Linked DNA regions of Homo sapiens: all the other regions are linked to region 2. The links are contacts of gene promoters, found by promoter capture Hi-C in blood cells and fetal thymus (Javierre and others, 2016). All regions are on one chromosome and are shown on one strand. Each heading gives the region's core, a stretch centred on a gene start or on the middle of the fragment in contact. The rest is flanking DNA. Distances are from core to core; before and after follow the strand shown. Region 1 holds the start of OR8B12 (olfactory receptor family 8 subfamily B member 12). Region 2 holds the start of OR8B3 (olfactory receptor family 8 subfamily B member 3). Region 3 has its middle 1.7 kb from the start of OR8A1.

Evidence for each region. The method cuts DNA at HindIII sites, captures the fragments that hold promoters and counts their contacts. A CHiCAGO score of 5 or more calls a contact.
Region 1: a contact is called between the fragment with the promoter of OR8B12 here and the fragment with the promoter of OR8B3 in region 2, in 2 of 17 cell types (M1 macrophages and M2 macrophages). The highest score is 5.4, in M1 macrophages.
Region 3: a fragment that was not itself captured here is called in contact with the fragment with the promoter of OR8B3 in region 2 in 4 of 17 cell types (M2 macrophages, M0 macrophages, M1 macrophages and 1 more); the score reaches 5.8 in M2 macrophages.

The regions. Positions count from the first base shown.
Region 1 is chr11:124,542,110-124,544,995 of GRCh38, forward strand. It overlaps OR8B12 (olfactory receptor family 8 subfamily B member 12), which reads right to left and starts at 1,545. Exons shown (of 1, transcript NM_001005195.1): 1 at 613-1,545. The coding sequence starts at 1,545. The coding sequence ends at 613. The HindIII fragment of the contact is 5,500 bases long and covers 1-2,512 here.
Region 2 is chr11:124,397,567-124,400,387 of GRCh38, forward strand. OR8B3 (olfactory receptor family 8 subfamily B member 3) reads right to left here and starts at 1,458. Exons shown (of 2, transcript NM_001005467.2): 1 at 1,124-1,458. The HindIII fragment of the contact is 12,656 bases long and covers 1-2,821 here.
Region 3 is chr11:124,566,829-124,569,839 of GRCh38, forward strand. No RefSeq gene overlaps it. Among named protein-coding and RNA genes, the nearest start is that of OR8A1, 1.7 kb to the right of the region's middle. The HindIII fragment of the contact is 628 bases long and covers 1,156-1,783 here.

The DNA.
Region 1 (2,886 bases), core at 295-2,794, 140 kb after region 2:
GTCACATTCTACAAACTTGACACAATTCTCTTCTCATTTGGTGAAGACCAACTTAAGAAAATGTTTCATCTTCTATCCTCTTGAAAAAAAATGAAATATTTAAAAATTATTTATTGAGAGGTCACATTAAATTACTATGAATAGAATTAGGTTTTAATGTGTTAAGTTTTCTTACTTTTAAAAGGATATCTGCAAGGGCAGCAATGAAGCATGAAAAAATGACATAAAGAAAAAAAAAGCAGCCTGGAATTCAAGGACCTGGATTCCATTCCCAGTTGTGGCACCAAGTAGTTGTGTGTCCTTGAGCAACATATGTATTTCTGAGTCTCCAACACATGTTAATTGAAGAGACTAGATTAAATAATGTGTAAGGCCAATTCACGATTAAATGGTCTATGATTATAGAAAAATTTGCATAAAATGAAGAAATCCTGGAATAACTAGGTGAAGCAGAGACAGGGAGAATATGTCTGCACTTAACACTCATCCAAATGTAAAGATTTAAAATTCTTTTTCTGTACAAGACAGGAAAAAAATGGAACTTGAATCTCACTGAAAACACACACTAATAAGCAAAGCATTGTATCTCCTTCCTCCAATACTAATCCTTTCTTAAGAAAAGATTTTTCTGCCCAAAGTTCTCCTCAGGGCAACTTTGACATCCTTGTTCCTCAAGCTATAGATTAATGGGTTTAACACGGGGACTATTATGGTATAGAACAGGGAGGACACTTTCCCTTGCTCGAGGGGCAGGATGGAAAGGGGTTTGAGATACATGAAAGCACCAGAACCAAAGAAAAGAGAAACTACAATTATGTGGGAACTGCAAGTACTAAAGGCTTTGGACCTGCCTTCTGTAGAACTGTTGTGTAGAATGCTGGAGAGGATGAGGGCATAAGAAATAAAGACAGTGACAATGGGCATTCCAACGTCAACAGCCACCACAATAAAGACCACCAGCTCATTCATGTAAGAGCTGTTGCAGGAGAGCTCAAGGAGAGGAAGGATGTCACACATGAAATGATTGACAAGGTTGTCAGCACAGAAGGTCAGGTTCATTATGCTTCCTGTGTGGGCCATGGCCCCAGCAAACCCCATCCCATAGGCACCCAACAAAAGGAGCAAACACACCTGGCAAGACATGGTGACTGTGTACAACAGTGGGTTACAGATGGCCACGTAGCGGTCATACGCCATCGCTGACAGGATGAAGGACTCAGAGACGACAAAGAAGCAGAAGAAGAAGAGCTGAGTCATACACCCTGTGAAGGAAATGATGTTCTTCCTTGAGACAAAACTCATCAGCATTTTGGGAGTGATGGTAGTGGAGAAACAGAAATCTATTAAAGAGAGGTTAAAAAGGAAGAAGTACATGGGAGTGTGCAGGTGAGAGTTCAGCCCAATCAGGGTTATCAAGCCCAGGTTCCCCACCACGGTGACCGTGTAGAAACCCAGAAACAGGAAGAAGAGGGGGATCCGCAGTCCCGGCTGGTGGGTTAAGCCTTCGAGGATAAACTCTGTCACAGAAGAGTTTTTGGCTGCCATTCTTTTTGGTCAGGCAGGAGAGTCGGAGGGGACAAGAGAAGAGGACCACTTAGAAAGAAACATCACCACCACATTCTTAGTCTCTATCTCCCATTCTTAGAAAAGGAATCCAAGGAGAGAGATTTGAACTTTGGTAGGAAGGTTTTTACCACTCACTGTGGGTCTATCTTCACAGTCCGAGTGATTATAACTCCCAAAGTGTAATATGAGACTCAACTGTAACTGCAGAATGAGAGCTGGATCTGCTGAAGAAAGGGGTACCAAAAATAATCCAAATGTCTTTTAGATCCTTAGGTCAGTCCCTTTTCTATATCTTTCCCTCTCCTGTCTCTGCTTCACTTGGTAAAACCTGGACCTCTTCCCTGAAGGGAATCCTGAGATGCAGAAGCCACAGTGGCTCTGCTCAGAGCTTCCACCTCTGGGTCCACACTGTCAGATTAAGTAGGTGAGCTCATGCTTTTCCAAGATCTCTTAGCTCAAGTGGCTGTACATTTAATAATTTTTTAAAGCTGACACTTATTGAGTGGTTACTATAAGAGGTTCTGTTTGAAGAGCCATGTAGCAATATTATTATCTTCATTTTACAGATGAAACAAGTAAGATGACATAACTAGACAAAAGTCCCCAAACCACCTGCAGCCAGAAGGTGAATTTCGGCAGTATGGCTCAAATGGCTTGCACTTGAAATCACCATGTTACATAAGTGACCAGCATCGGGGCAGGCACTCACCTTCCTTCCCTTTAGAGCCATAAATGCTATACTCTACTGCCTCTTTTTCACATTCTGGGGAGGAAGATGACCCTAGTGAAGACAAGATGACAGATCTGAGCTCAAAGCCCTCTCTTCCCAGTACAGGTCAAAGGATCAGAACCTCTAATGTATCTCATAACACTTCCTGCACTGAAGGACATGACTTCCAATTGTTCATTTGCCCAAAGGCCTCTCCAGCTTCCAGGAAGGAGACAAAGCTTTTTCCTGACCAGTGAATAACAAAAGACTAAAGAGTTTTATTCTGGATTACAGACCTCAATGATCTGGCCATTAAGATAGAGACTCCCTCAAGACCACTTGCTTAGCAATTAGTTTCCCTAGAGAAGAAGAAATGTTTGTTTATCTCTTGGAATTGCTTGATTTGGCTTTCTACTAACATGTATCCTGTACTATTAAGAGAAAATCATTGTGAAAAAAATGATTGTCATTACCATTTCTTGAATACCCAATAATTTAGTACCTGACATAGTACCCTTATTCCAGCTGCCAAGATCCAGAGTACACATATACAAACATATCTTTATTTATTTCTCACAATACCTATTTTACAGGTAAGTTGCTCACAGAGA
Region 2 (2,821 bases), core at 208-2,707:
CAATTGCTCCTGTCCTTACTAGAAGACAGAGAGGTGGAGTAGCTGAGGCACAGGCCTACCTGCTGTTGAGCTTGGGTTATGTGGATGTGTCTCATCTCCCTCGCTTCCATCTGGCCCTTCACTTCCTAGTTTCTTTTTTTTTTTTTTAAGATGGAGTTTCACGCTTGTTGCCCTGGCTGGAGTGCAATGGTGGGATCTCGGCTCACTGCAACCTCTGCCTCCCGGGTTCAAGAGATTCTCCTGTCCAGCCTCCCAGGTAGCTAGGATTACAGGCACATGCCACGATCCCAGCTAATTTTTGTATTTTTAGTAGAGACAGTGTTTCATGATATTGGTCTGGCTGGTCTCAAACTCCTGACCTCAGATGATCCACCTGCCTCAGCCTCCCAAAGTGCTGGAATTACAGGTGTGAACCACCGAGCCTGGCCACTTCCTAGTTTCTACTTATGTTTCCATTATTCTACTAGACACTTCAGTTTCCTTGTGATGACCACCAGGTAAGGGAGGATTCCTTTAGGGCAGAGACCATACCGATATTCTGTTTCCTAGACAGGGGTCTCCTATAGGGTTTCTAGATACCTTACTATAAGAATCCATGAAGTCACCAGGTGATAACAGAAGACCCTTAGTAGTCAAAGCCTTATGATTCACCACATACAAATCACATAAGTGTTTCTACACATTCTCCTCTATTCCATCCTAGCTAGACAGGATGAAGAAAGGAAGCTGAATGTGCTTTCACAGGTCTTTGTAGGAAGGCATAAGAGAAACATAATTAATTTGGGTACAGTTATATTAGTTGTTAAGTTTGTAAAATTTTACCAAACTGGTATTTTTATGACCCTTAAACTCTTCTATATGTATAGCACATGTCAATATATTTTTTAATAAAGAGACAAATATCCTTTCCTGGCATTCCTCTGTTCTGGATGTGTCACTTGGAACTGCTATTGCTATCTTGATACCAGGCTAAGAATGAAGCCAACAGAGAGAACAGTGTGAGAAAAATGCAAGCCCAAGAGTCAGAGCTCCATACCACTAAGTTTCTTGCTATTGAATAGAATACTTTTCCCCATTTTTCAGCAACATCCAGGAGAGAGAAATAGAAACTTGATTAACTCACCTTCCTTCCACTCAGAGAACTCAGTGCTGACCATTGATATGTGTTTCACCTCCACTGCCCTGGAGGAAGAAATGGCTGTGAAGGTATCTATGTTGATCAGATGTAGTCACAGAATCTTCTTCTCCCTTGACTGGCAAAAGCATTGAGCAGAGATCTCAGAATCTGAATGTTCTGGGAATCATTTTGTGGTGTAGATCAAACTATTATTTATAAATTTGCCAAGAGGGTTTGTTGGAAAACTGCACTTCAAACCAGAGCTACCATGTCATAGAGCACATGGCATTTGCTCAAGGCTTACAATTCTTTTGGACCTGATTACATATCCCCCAGTAAGTCTCTCTCAGGACCTCCCCTACCATGACAAACTCTGCAGGGAAGAAATTGTATGCCCTTGTTTACAGCCTAATTTGTTGTAGTAGAGGTAAATTTCTCATCAGGGATTATACAATCCACAGGGCATAGGAGAAAGAGCATCTGCTCTCATGTATAAAGATGTAAATGTAATGATTGTCAGAATTTTTGCTAATTATAATCCTAGGTAGTATATTAGCTTTAACAGGAATGTAAGTATAATTTAGTGAAGTTTATATGCTCATTTTTAATATTGTGAGTCCTTTTAAATAATCTTTCAAATAATCCATTTTTACTTTTGCATACTTCATAGGCATAAAGAAAAGGGATACTTTTAATTGATTTCAGATTTTTTAATAAAAATTTTGTGTAACATAGAATTATCCTTTATTTCATAAAAATGTATTTACCTTGGGTTGCTCTAACTCAACATGTCTTTGTCTTTCATGTTAAAATCAAATCCGTAAGAAAAATCACTATTCATGGGCCGTTATTTCAAGACAGTGTGACTTTAGAATTTCTCTGTAGGTAGGAATTTGTGCTTGTGAGAAGGCATCTATTTTTTTACCTTTTTATTTTAAAATTACTAGAATCACAAGAAGTGGCAAAAGTCATACGTAGATTCCCTTGAACTCTTCACCCAGTTTCCTCACATGGCGATGTCTTCCACGACTATAGGACAATAGCAAAACCAGGAAATTGACATAGGTTCAATAATGTTAACGAAACTACAGACCTTATTCACTAGTTTAACATGCTCGTATGTATGTGTGTGCAAATCTATGCAATTCTATCCCATGTACATATTTATGTAACCACCACCTAAGTCAGGATACAGAATTCTCTTTTTTTTTTTTTTTGAGACTGTGTCCTGCTTTGCTGCAATCACAGCTTACTGCAGCCTCAACCTCCCAGGTTCAATAGATCTTCCCACCTCAGCCTCCCAAGTAGCTGGGACTACAGGCACATGCCACCACCATTGGATAATTTTTGTATTTTTTATAGAGACAGGATTTCATCATATTGCCCAGGCTGGTCTTGAACTCCTGGGATCAAGTAATCCACCTGCCTTGGCCTCCCAAAGTGGTGGGACTACAGGAGTGAGTCACCATACCCAGCCAAAAATATCCATCTTAAAAGAGATGTATAAACTTTTGTTTTCTTATTTTTTATTAGTAATTATTATATGTATTTATGGGATACAATGTGGTGTTTTGATAAATGTATACATCATGAAATTATTAAATTAAGATCATTAACACACCTATCAACTCACATACTGATTTTCTGTAGTGTAAACACTTAAAATCTACTCTCTTAGCAATTTTGAAATATATATTGCATTAT
Region 3 (3,011 bases), core at 220-2,719, 170 kb after region 2:
GTGCTGTGTTCTCATTGGCAGTTATCCTAAGGCTCTTATGGCTTAGTGAAACTAAAGGTAATAATTGTAGTAACTAATATAAAATATATGGTTTGGCCAGGCACAGTGGCTCACACCTGTAGTCTTAGAGCTTTAGAGGACCAAGAGAGGAGAATTGCTTGAGGCCAGGAGTTGGAGACCAGCCTGGGCAACACAGAGAGATCCCATCTGTAGCCAAAATTTTAAAAAGTAGCCCAGCATGGTAGCATACACCTGTAGTCCCAGCTACTCATGAGGCTGAGGTGAGATGCTTGCTTGAGCTTGGGAGTTCAAGGTTACAGTGAGCCATGATCGTACCACTGCATTCAAACCTAAGCAACAGAATGAGACTCTGTCTTTAAAAAAGAGGAAAAACAGGAAAGTAAAAGAAATACGTGGTTTATATTTGCCTCTTTCATGTTATTAGAAGACTATGAGAGTGAAACGTTAAATCAGTGCTGTCTAGCGTTCTCCTACACAATGGTGTTCCCACCTGCTGTGCACTCAGTGAACAGTGTTCATTCCACACTGCTTTGTAAAGCACACGATCTACAGTTATAGTTATTCAAGTTGGGTGTTTCCTTTCATTTTAAGAGGCAGACATTGGGTAAAAAAGGATATGTAAAACTTTTTAAATCTACTGTTGTTATTTAGAAAAAAATTCTTCTTTGTGATAAATGAAAATAATACATTTCTATTTCCATTGTAATAAATGGGAATAACTCCTTATGCACAATGCTTGGGACTAGAAATGTCTTGAATTTCGAATTTTTTTCCGGTTTTAGAATGTTTGTATATACATAATGAGATATCTTGAGGATGAGATCCAAGTCTAAACATGAAATTTATATATGCTTCATATACATCTTATACACATAGGCTGAAGGTAATTTTATACCATATTTTTAATAATTTTGTGCATGAAACAGTTTTGACTGTATTTTCACTGAGACTAGTCACATGAGAGGAGGTGTGGAATTTTCCACTTGTGGTTCATGTTGGCCCTCAACAAGTTTCAGATTTTGGACTTTGAGTTTTCAGATTGGGAATGCTTAACGTGAATTTTAAAAATCTTAGCTACCTCTCATACTAGTTATTGTAAAGTTAAATGCCTCATTACCAATAATTTGATATAAAAGCTTACAATGCAATTCAGACTTTGTCTTCACACCACGTCCTAATGATTTTAAAGACTCTTACTTCTAAGAAAAAAGAATACAGTTAGTGCCAGTTATAGGAATCAAATGAGACAATACATTTGTGAATGCTATGTTTAAAAAGCAGATTACAAATGTTTTTGTAAAAATACATATATATTTATATACATGTAAATACATATATGCATAGGAAAAGTCTAGAAGGATATTCACTACCACCGTTTGGTTCCAAGTGGTGGAAAATGGTTGTTTTAAATTTTTGCTTATTTGCATTTCTAATTCACTACAATGCCTATATATTGCCTTTATAATTTTTTTAAATGCATCCAAAATTAGCAATAGATCTTTCCTCTATCTTCAAAAATTATATAAATTAAATGTTATTAAATAATAATAAAGTGCTACACAAAGATACGCTAAAACAAAACAATTTAGTTTAGTGGAGACAAAACACACTGGTGGTCAGAAGTCCTGGGTTTTAGGCCCAGTTTTGCCTCTTACTAGCTGGGTTTCCTTGGGTGACTTATTTAACTTTTAGAGCTTCAATTTCCTAGACAACGAAACAAAATACAGCATTTTTCCTATGCTATGCATATACTAAGATATCAAGCTTAAACCTATTTTAATCATACATTGCTAAGAGCTGTGAGTGTGCAGATTTACAAGGCTGCACATGTGAGGCAAAAGAGGAAACTCATGATCAGGACAGAGCCGAGGTAAGTTTGAGTTCCAAGTCACCAATAATTAGTAAACCTTGGGCAAATCACTTAGTGTCTGGCACCTCAGTTTTCTCAATACAAACATGAAAATAAAAATCCTTCCCTAAACACATTTCTCCCCATTTCCGAAAACTTCAGAAGTTAATGAGATCGACCTTTGAAAGAAATGTGTAAGCTGTAAAGCATTATGCAAAAGTTAGTAATTACATAAGGAAGCAATTAAAATAGGGGTAATATGTTTTATAGCTTAAGAAATACATCCCACAGATAAGACTGTCTATACATATTGTATCCAGCAATGATTATTCATGCTTCCTGGAGATATGCCTGTAATTTGAATACTTTGTCATCAGGGATGTAATAGGACAAAGGTTTGATATTATGATCTGAAAATAATAATAATAATAATTAGCTATTTAGCACTTAGTATGGAACATTCAATGGGCCAGTGCTCATGTTGCACCACAGATCAATTAAATCAGAACATCTACGGGTAGAACCCAGGTATCAATCCTTTGTAAATGCCCCGTGTGATTATAATGTATAGCCAATGCTGAGAACCACTGCCTTAGGACCTCAGGTCAAGTAAGAAATTAAGAACAAATTCCAGACTCTTAATGACAATTCACATTTTTTATAGGCACTGAGTATTTGAAAAAAGATTTCTAAATATGCATTATCCTGTGTTATTTTTACAACCACCTTTGGAATCAATATTAATTTCTTCATCTTTCAGACATAGAAATTGATGTGTCAGCCAATGACACAGCTTGTAACTACCCTATCACCCTGACACTGCGTAAATTTCAGATAGGTATTTACATGTTCACATTCAGTGAATATTTAGGAATTATATACATGACAAAGGAAGTTTATTTCTAAAGCAAAATCCATCCCCAACTACAAAATATGAAATATACTACTTATCTACAATGTAGAGATTCTCAAACTTTACTATGCAACACCATCACCAGAAAGATTGTTAATACATAGATTGCTGGGCCCCATATCCAGAGTTTCTGATTAATTAGGTGTGAGCTGAGGCCTGAGAATTTGCATCTCTAAAAAACTCCAGGTAATGTCAGTGCTGCTGGTCCAGGGACTACCCTTTGAGAAA